Regions from separate parts of the Homo sapiens genome. Here regions 1 and 3 are each linked to region 2. The links are contacts of gene promoters, found by promoter capture Hi-C in blood cells and fetal thymus (Javierre and others, 2016). All regions are on one chromosome and are shown on one strand. Each heading gives the region's core, a stretch centred on a gene start or on the middle of the fragment in contact. The rest is flanking DNA. Distances are from core to core; before and after follow the strand shown. Region 1 overlaps CFDP1 (craniofacial development protein 1). Region 2 holds the start of BCAR1 (BCAR1 scaffold protein, Cas family member). Region 3 overlaps TMEM170A (transmembrane protein 170A).

Evidence for each region. The method cuts DNA at HindIII sites, captures the fragments that hold promoters and counts their contacts. A CHiCAGO score of 5 or more calls a contact.
Region 1: a contact is called between a fragment that was not itself captured here and the fragment with the promoter of BCAR1 in region 2, in 3 of 17 cell types (M1 macrophages, endothelial precursors and M2 macrophages). The highest score is 9.3, in M1 macrophages.
Region 3: a fragment that was not itself captured here is called in contact with the fragment with the promoter of BCAR1 in region 2 in 1 of 17 cell types (M1 macrophages); the score reaches 5.6 in M1 macrophages.

What each region holds. Positions count from the first base shown.
Region 1 is chr16:75,390,926-75,394,052 of GRCh38, forward strand. All of the region lies in intron 5 of CFDP1 (craniofacial development protein 1), which reads right to left. Among named protein-coding and RNA genes, the nearest start is that of CFDP1, 41 kb to the right of the region's middle. The HindIII fragment of the contact is 5,149 bases long and covers 1-3,127 here.
Region 2 is chr16:75,250,152-75,253,346 of GRCh38, forward strand. It overlaps BCAR1 (BCAR1 scaffold protein, Cas family member), which reads right to left and starts at 1,473. Exons shown (of 7, transcript NM_014567.5): 1 at 1,320-1,473. The coding sequence starts at 1,331. RefSeq lists silencers at 1,356-1,515, 1,576-1,685 and enhancers at 1,685-2,225, 2,766-3,195. The HindIII fragment of the contact is 27,287 bases long and covers 1-3,195 here.
Region 3 is chr16:75,454,491-75,457,779 of GRCh38, forward strand. The region is part of intron 1 of TMEM170A (transmembrane protein 170A); the gene reads right to left. Among named protein-coding and RNA genes, the nearest start is that of TMEM170A, 8.6 kb to the right of the region's middle. RefSeq lists an enhancer at 1,965-2,466. The HindIII fragment of the contact is 244 bases long and covers 1,441-1,684 here.

The DNA of each region.
Region 1 (3,127 bases), core at 290-2,789, 140 kb after region 2:
TTTGTGAGAAAGTATCATATTTGAGAATGCCATCTGTTTCCTGCTGGATCTCCCTAATGCAGATATCATCTCAGCAGATTTCTTATTCTAAAAAGCATATTAGCTGTAAGAAAGGCAGGCATGGATATGACAAGCAGTGAGATTTCTACATGAGTGACTTAAGCTGATTTTAAGCTGCCATTTCTCCATTCTTTAGTTATTTTCATAATTATAGTAGCAAAGAGTATTTTCTGAAACATACAGTTTCCAAGTAGAATCTCTAAGCATCAACAGGGATTATTTTAAGAAGAAATATCCAAGGAAACTAGAAGTAAAAACTGTGTTAGCTGAAACTAACCAGAAACCTAAGAAGAGCTTCTTTGCCTTTATTTCCATCTGGTGGTTATATCCAGAGGTAACTTCATAGCAATACTTTCAATAAGTGCAAGAAACACTAATAATACCACATACAAACCTGGCAACTCTTAATCACCTGCTGAAGGCTAATTCCATACGTTGTCTAGAGCAGTATTTTGTCAAATTCAGGTTGCAGTTGATTGTGAAATCAATTCAGCAGGTCATAACAGTTTTTTAAATGACACATCTATACACAATAATGTAAAACAGAAAATCAGAGCATATTATACATAGTAAGGGTAAATATTTCACCAAATTTTAATCTCACCTTTTTACATACCTATTTTTATAGGTGTACAAGGGCATAATGTAAAATGTATTCCTTATGATGGGCGGCAGTCAAGAAAGTTTGAAAGCTACTGGTCTGGGTGGCCAGGTGTGGTGGCTCACACCTGTAATGCCAGCACTTTGGGAGGCTGAGGCAGGTGGCCGAGGTCAGGAGTTCAAGACCAGCCTGGACAACATGGTGAAACCCCGTCTCTACTAAAAATACAAAAATCAGCCAGGTGTGGTGGCGGGCGCCTGTAATCCCAGCTACTCGGGAGGCTGAGGCAGGGAACTGCTTGAACCCAGGAGGTGGAGCTTGCAGTGAGCCGAGATCGCGCCACTGCACTCCAGCCTGGACGACAGAGCAAGACTCCGTCTCAAAAAAATAAAAAATAAATAAATAAATAAATAAAGCTACTGGTCTGAAGAGAACTCCCTGCAAACAATACAATAAATGTAAAGCCAAAAACATGTTGTTTCAGCCTATAGCTTCAAATTTTAAAAATCCTAATCTTCATTAAAAATACAGCTTGTTGGATGGGTGCAGTGGCTCATGCCTGTAATGCCAGCACTTTGGGAGGCTGAAGGGGGTGGATCACGAAGTCAGGAGTTCAAGACTAGCCTGGCCAACATAGTGAAACCCCATCTCTACTAAAAATACAAAAAATTAGCCAGGCGTGGCAGCACGTGCCTGTAATCCCAGCTACTCTGGAGGCTGACGCAGGAGAATGGCTTGAACCCAGGAGGCAAAGGTTGCAGTGAGCCAAGATTGCACCACTGCACTCCAGCCCAGGAAACAGTGCGAGACTCCAACTTGAAAACAAAAACAAAACAAAGCAACAAAAAAAAACAGCTTGTTACCAGGTATAAGCATATAAGTAACTGAAATAAAAATTCTATAAAACATTATTTATTCTTTATTCTTTTGAGACAAGGTCTCCCTCTGTCGCCCAGGCGGGAGTGCAGTGGTGCAATCTCAGCTCACTTCGACCTCTGCCTCCTGGGTTCAAGCGATTCTGCTGCCTCAGCCTCCTAGGTAGCTGGGATTAAGGGCATGTGCCACCAAGCCCAGCTAATTTTTGCATTTTGAGTAGGCATGGGGTTTCACCATGTTGGCCAGGCTGGAAAACAGTATTTACTCCTACTACATGTGATGTGCTCTGATATTTTCTCTTAATTGATTATTCCAAACCACAGCTTACAAAGTACTTGCTTAGAGTATTAACAGGGCCAGGTCTGTAGAATTTTGTTCTACAGCTGCCTTCATCTGATTTTATGTCATTTCTACTGTGGTAGCAAGCAGTCAAATCCTCTTCCTCCATAGGTTTCTGTGTAACTACTACATGACTTCTGCTCAGTGGGAGAGAAATATCTTGAGTATGAAGTAGATAAAGATGTAACAGATGAGGAAGTAGCCCCATCCACATGTCCTGGCATTCAGTGCCATGATACATGCTGAGAGCAGCATCTTACAGCAAGCACGTGCAGCTCACAGCCTGAGGACAGAGGGCAAGGAATGTGTGGAAGCAGCTCTGAGCCAATGTCCGATGGGCACTGGAGGCTAAACATCCCACTCTCCTCAGCCCTCACTGTGTTCTTCCCAATCTCTAAGTTTCCCAGCAGGAATGAGTGCCAGTCACCACCAGCAGTCACCTGCTTGATAACTCAACCTTTACTGGCTTCTTTCCTCTCTTGTACCTCTCTATTGGGGCTTCCTGGAATCACCTCTCACATAAATGACATGCACTTAAACCTTTATCTCAGGGTCTATTTCTGGGTAAATGCAACCTAAGAGAGTATACTAGTATAACTCTGTTGTTAAGAGCCAGGGCTGCAAAGATGGGGAAGGCCCACCCTAAAAAAGCTCACACTTTTTTAGGAAAATCAACACTCTTTTTAAAAATGTGGGGCCGGGGGTGGATCATGAGGTCAGGAGATCGAGACCATCCTGGCTAACAAGGTGAAACCCCGTCTCTACTAAAAATACAAAAAATTAGCCGGGCGCGGTGGCGGGCGCCTGTAGTCCCAGCTACTCGGGAGGCTGAGGCAGGAGAAGGGCGTGAACCCGGGAAGCGGAGCTTGCAGTGAGCCGAGATTGCGCCACTGCAGTCCGCAGTCCGGCCTGGGCGACAGAGCGAGACTCCGTCGCAAAAAAAAAAAAAAAAAAAAAAAAAAAAAAAAAAAAGTGGGGCCGGGCCCGGTGGCTCACGCCTGTAATCCTAGCACTTTGGGAAGCCAAGGAGGGCAGATCACGAGGTCAGGAGATCAAGACCATCCTGGCTAACACAGTGAAACCTCGTCTCTACTAAAAATACAAAAGATTAGACGGGCGTGTTGGCACCTGTAGTCCCAGCTACTCAGGAGGCTGAGGCAGAAGAATGACATGAACCCGGGAGGCGGAGCTTGCAGTGAGCCGAGATTGCGCCACTGCACTGCAGCCTGGGTGACAGAGCGAGACTCCACC
Region 2 (3,195 bases), core at 223-2,722:
CCCCAGCCCAAGGTGACTTTCCTGGCAGAACCTGGGACTGCCCTGCCCTGCCCTGCCTCCACCCAGCTCCCGGGCAAGCAGTGCCAGGAGGAAGTGTCAGCAGCTCCTCCCCAAAGCTCTTTTCCCCACAGCCCCGCCACCCCCGTACCTGGGCCCCGATTCTCCAGGCACCCCGACACCTGCTCTCACAGGCCGGCCAGCCCCCACCACCCAACTCTCCACCGAGGGAAAGGAATGGGCACAAGAGGGGGCGTGTCCCGGCCCAGGGCGATGGGAAACATCTCACTAGCAAAGAAGAGATCAACCCATGGTCATTCTGAGAAGGTGACCAAAGCTGCGGCGGGCCCCGGGAGGGGTGTGGGAAAGGAAACCAGGGACTCTCAGGAGGGAACGGGAGCCTTGTGGTAGAAAAGGAGCTGCTGTCCCCGATCTGGAACTCGAAACCCCAACATCTTCCAGGCCGTAAGCCCCTCACCCCGCACCCCTAGGCAAATCTCCGCTTTCCCAACTCCCTCACCTCGGTCCAGCGATCAGCCTCTCGGACCCTCGAGAGGGAGCTCCGACCCTGCTCTAGCTCTTGCGGGTCCCCCAACCATGGACTCCAAAGCCTTCATGTCCACACTGCAGAACCCGGCCCTGGCCCCCTCCCGCGACACTCGCGTGCGGCTAGGACTCCTGTGGCCAGGACCCGGCTTCCACCGGCGCTCGGCGTGCGGGGCTGCAAAGCCCGCGGCGCGCCCGCCCCCACTCCCGCTCCGCTCCCGGAACCCCGCGCCGGCGGCCGGAGTGAATCATTAACTGGAGCCGGGTGCTCCGGCTGCGCAGCCTTCCCCGCTGGCGCCACGCACTTGCCCGCCCGGCCTCGGTCCCCCGGAGCTCCTCCCTCTCCGGGAGCCGGTGGGCAGTCCCCACGCCACACCAGCCGGACCACCCGCCAGAGGCTCAACGGCCCCTCCTCGCAGCCGAGGAAACTGAGGCTCGGAGGCAGGGCGCAGAGGCCCAAGGTGACACAGCAGGCGGCCGTCGGCCGGGGAGCGCGGGCCCCGCCAGCCACTTTCCCGACACAGGAACCCTCCTACCGGCTGGCGGCCCCCGCGCCCGGCCCCGCCAACGCACCCGAGGCGCACAGGCTCCGGAGCCCCCGCGGTTCCTGCCTCCCGGCTTCCCGGCCAGGGCAGAAGGAGATCCCAGGGCCGCGGACCCCGGCCGGCGGTTCCCAGGCCCCGCAGGTCCGGCAGGAAATGCCGCTCGCTTAACCCCTTCCAGCCCGCTGCCGCCTCCAAGCCCGTACGCGGCCCGGCCCCACCTGGCGCCCTCACCAGGTGGTTCATGGTGTCCGGCGGGCCTGGGGCCCCGGCTCTCGCGGGGGCGCACACCGAGCTGCCCGGGCCGCGTGCCCTCGGGGCTCCGAGCGCGCCGCAGCCGCCCCGGTGCCGCCGCGCAGCTGCCGCCTCGGCCACCCAGAGCCGGTCCAGCCGCTCTCCGCCTGCCGCCACGGCCCAGCCGGCCCAGCCCGATCCCAGCATGCCCGGCCGCGCGCGCCCATTGGCCGCCGCCGCTCTCCATGCAAATAAGCCGCCTGTCGGGGGCGCGGGCGCGCAGACAGAAGCCCGCCCAGTAGGGGCCGCCCCCCGCCCCGCCCCCCACCTCCAACCCCGAGGCTCCAGGCCCCTGCCCGAGGCCAGGCTTCCAGCCTAGGGCGCAGGACACCGCTCTCCAACAAATGCACGTCCCCGCCTTCCACCCAGGCGAGAACGCACCGAAGGCCTACGCAAACTCCTCCACTTCTGGGAAGGCTGCCCGGTTTGCCTTCTTCCTCCAGAGCCGAGACATGGCCTCAAGTCGACTTGTCTTTCCCGCTAACCAACCCCAGGGCATTCATCGCGTGTCCATGGGCCGTGGGACTCAAATCTGAATCTAGAGGGAAAGGGGAGGGGGCGTGCCCCAGCCTGTAGGAGACGAATCATCACCACCACAGCTCCGACTGTAGACGGTCCCACCGTGTAAGGACCCCAGGAAATGAAGCCTCAAGCAGGGAGGCTGGCGAGCTCTCGACCCAGCGCTTTTCACGGGCAGCACCTACCTTCCCCTGCATTGTGCCGACATCTGGGGACTCGGGCTGGTCCTCCAGCTGATCTGCCTCCTCTCATTACTCATTCCTAGGTTCAGCCTAAAACCTGGGCCTAGTACCCTCCTGAGTCCTGCTCCAACTCATCTGCTTCAGCGACATGGGGTAGGAGAGCGGCACTGGGGGAATGAGGGAGATAGAAGGAAGAATCACTCGGGGGAAACCGAGTGGAGACAACCTTGGCTCTCCTGAGTTGCCCCTTGCTCGGTTGCAGGTCAGTGACTGTCACCCCATGCAGCAGAACCAGGGTGCCAGAGCCCCTGGGCCAGGCCAGGGAGGCACAATCTGCAGGGAGATGATAGGACCGAGCCTGGTCCAGACCAGACAGGACCCTCAGTCAACAATCCTGGGCCACTGGCTGAGCAATGGGATGCCACGAGGCAGCCCTGGTGGCAGGGAAGCAGCGGGGTAGACCCGGCTTCACGCAGCAGAGAATTCTCAAGCATGGCCTATGGAAGACACAAGCCCAGGTGGGCCTGCAGCTGCCCCTCTGTCTGACCCCCAGGGCTCAGCCTACGCAGCGCCTGGCCAGATGTGCCACCTTGGCAGGCCCTCTCCCCTCTCTGGGCTCCTTTCTCATCTGAAAAGGGGCTAGGACAGCCCATGATTTGCTGCTCAGGTGCTCTGGGGAGCTAGTTAAAAAACAGACTCCTGTGTCCCACCCCTCCCAAAAAACTGGACGTCTGCATTTCTTCAATATTTGGCTTGGGAAGCATTGGCCAGAACTCACAGCACAGCGGGTGAGGAAGGAGCAGTGGGATGAGACAGAGCATGACCCAGAGTCCTCAGGAGGAACAGAACAGCTAGCCAACACCCTGTGCCTCCCCGACACAGCCCGCCTCGCCTCAGAAGAGGAGCCAGCCTTCAGGGAAGCTGCCTGGAGCATCTCCTCCTGCTTGTTCCCAAGAGCTGTGCCGGGCCCCTCCTGCACCCTGACCCTGTCCAGCCACCCACTCCTCAGCCTGGCTGGCACACCAGCTTCCCAGAGAGCAGGTCTGAACCAGCGGGACCCTCAGGAGCCTGAGGTCATCCCTGGGCCTCCACTTCTGTGGGGAGGGGAGACCAGG
Region 3 (3,289 bases), core at 313-2,812, 200 kb after region 2:
CGGGCATGGTGGCAGGCACCTGTAGTCCCAGCTACTTGGGAGGCTGAGGCAGGAGAATCGCTTGAACCCAGGAGGCAGAGGTTGCAGTGAGCTCAGATCACACCACTGCACTCCAGCCTGGGAGACAGAATGACACTCCGTCTCAAAAAAATAAAAGAGCAATGACAGTTAAAGCTATAAAGACAGATGAGGGAAACCCTTTGGGGAATTTGACACCAGACTAAGGACTTCACAAAAGATCTAAAGTGCCAGTATAGGTTTTGAGCAGTAACGGTTGTCATGACATTATTCCACAGGCCCCACCTGACACTCCTAGTTGGAATACAAACTGGAAAACCACCTTTTTGCAGGGTAATTTGGAAGTCAAATGTGCATGGCCCTTGCTGCAACAATTTTACTTCCGGGGATACACCCCACAGAAAAGCATAGGTAGGCAAGGACAGAGGTAACAAGAAGGTCCCAACAGCATTGTCCATAATATCAAAAACTAGAAGTCACCTGCATGGCTATCACTGCAGAATTTGGAAAACACATTCTGTGCACCCACGTAATACTACAAAGTCCCATTAAAATATGCAATAGATGGGCTGGGCACAGTGGCTCACGCCTGTAATCCCAGCACTCTGGGAGGCTGAGGCAGGCAGATCACGAGGTCAGAAGATTGAGACCATCCTGGCTAACACGGTAAAACCCCGTCTCTACTAAAAATACAAAGAATTAGCTGGGCAAGGCAGCGGGCACCTGTAGTCCCAGCTACTTGGGAGGCTGAGGCAGGAGAATAGTGTGAACTCGGGAGGCGGAGCTTGCAGTGAGCCGAGATCACGCCACTGCACTCCAGCCTGGGTGACAGAGCGAGACACTGTCTCAAAAAAAAAAAAAAAAATGCAATAGATGTATATATACTGAAGGGGCAAGATGCCCAAGCCACATTGTGAAGTAACAAAAGCCAGTTGCATGTAGAATAAGATCCTGTTTTTGAGAAAACAAACACAATAAACACTCATGTGGAAATGCTTCTATGTACTGAGCATGTTTATTTAATAAATAATTATTAGATAGGCCAGGCATGGTGCTCGTGCCTGTAATCCCACCACTTGAAGCCAGGAGTTGAAGACCAGCCTAGCCAACATGGTGAAACACTGTCTCTCCTAAAAATACGTAAAAATTAGCCGGGCGTGGTGGCAAATGCCTGTAATCCCAGCTACTCAGGAGGCTGAAGCCCGAGAATCGCTTGAACCCAGGAGGCAGAGGTCGCAATGAGCCGAGGGCAAGAGAGCTAGACTTTAAAAAGAAAAACAAGGTAAGAAAAAACAAAGCTTTTGTTTTCACAAGAACTGCTCAGGAAGAATGAGCTTATTGGGATAAACAATTTAAAAGAGACCAGTCAGGGGCATCAATCCGCTTGAGGGGATTAGAAAGGGGGAGGAGAGGAGGACCAGAAGCTTTACTGAAGCTGTATTAGCACTGTAAGCACACTGTTAGTGTGTGTGTTTTTTCCCCCAGATCAATGAAAACCACAGTTTTATGAAGGTATTTTTATTCCCTTTACACAGGCTTCTTAATCTTGTTGAGAAGCTGGATTTAAGGGGCTATTGGAGATAGGGGTGGAGCCAAATCCCCTTAACCCACCCTTGACATTGTCACAGATGACTGCTCAAATTCTTTGCCCATTTTGAGTTAATAAAGCTTCAATTCAGAGCATATTCTGAACACTTCCAGTGAGAGTGCTCAGGTCTTGTTTTGGATAAATGGTTCTCGGTGAAAACATCAAGGATGCCCCAATTAGGTCTCAATGCTTATTAAAAATAACAAATGAGGCCGGGCACAGTGGGTCACATCTGTAATACCAGCACTTTGGAGGCTGAGGCGGGTGGATCATCTGAGGTTAGGAGTTCCAGAACAGCCAGGCCAACACGGCGAAACCGTCTCGACCAAAAAATATAAAAATTAGCTAGGTGGGGTGGCGCAAGCCTGTAATCCTGGCGACTCAGGAGTCTTCCTCCACCAATGAAAAAAGTCAGCCTTAGTCAATAGTGTCAATCAGAAATTGAGGGCAGGATTCTTGGTCCTCAGGGTTTCAGCCCCCACCTCTTCCACAACAAACCCATATCCTCCTGCAGTTTCTCTTCTAGCCGCCATTAGGCCAGGAGCTATTCCTGCCTTTCGCTGCCCAGAGACGCACCCTCCCTGGCTGGCAGCAACTCCAGAGGGAGCAGTGCCTGCATCTGGATACTGCTCCTCCCTAACAAATGTGCACCTGCCAGAGCTCTGGTGCCCACACAAATCTCTCCTGCCTGGGCAGCTACTGTGGCCCCTGGATCAGTCAAGAGTGGCCTGGCCTCCCAGCTGAGGCCCCCTGTCCACCACCCACCGCCAGCTCATCCCCAAGCCCCCACACAGCACCATGCTTCTCTTCCAAAGCAGAAAGACCATCTTCTATCCCGAGTCCTCACGTGCCACTCCCAAATCAATCTGATCCTGACTACCCCAACACCTAGTCTACAGAAAATTCTATGATGGCATCAGGAATTCACTGGTCCAAAGTGGACAAATGGGATGCAAACCTGCCTCCAAGAACTCAGAACAATCTTCACCTGGCTGCTGTCTGCCCCATACTGACCTGAGATCAGCCCTGGGTCCCTGCTATCCAGGGCTTCTGCTGGAGCTGCCAGAGTTTTAGAGAGAAGCTCTGCTTTCTGCAGTAACTCAAGGCACTGCTGGAGCCTGGCTTCCTACCAGCTGCCACAGAACCACTGAGGCCTTGAACTGGGAGGCAAAGCCTTAATATCCCAGAAACACACGAAGCTGGTAATTTCCAGGAAAGCAGGTTGGAACACAGGTATGCCATCCAAGTGCTAAGGGCTGAATTATGTGCCCCTACTATTCCTGTGTTAAACCCTACAGGACTGTGGTCTTAGGAGAGGAAGAGATTCTCAATCTCTTGATACCTCTCTCTCTCTGCCATGTGAAGACATGGTGAGAAGGCAGCCATCTGCAAGTCAGGAAGAGGGTCTTCACCAGAACCCAACCATCCTGGCACCCTAATCCCAGCCTTCCAGCCTCCAGAACTGAGGAGATAATGTCTGTTATTTAAGACAGCTAGTCTGTGGTATTTTGTTATGGCGGCCCATGCTGAGACAAAAATGTCACCCATCCCCACTTCCCTAGGAGCACAGCCCCTGCCCCAGGAGGCCTGCTAAGTCACCAACCCACATCTCAATTTTCCAAAAAGCTTAAAGGCCAATTTGTAAACAGCGTCCGGCATACACAGCAGGCCAACACCTCTCTG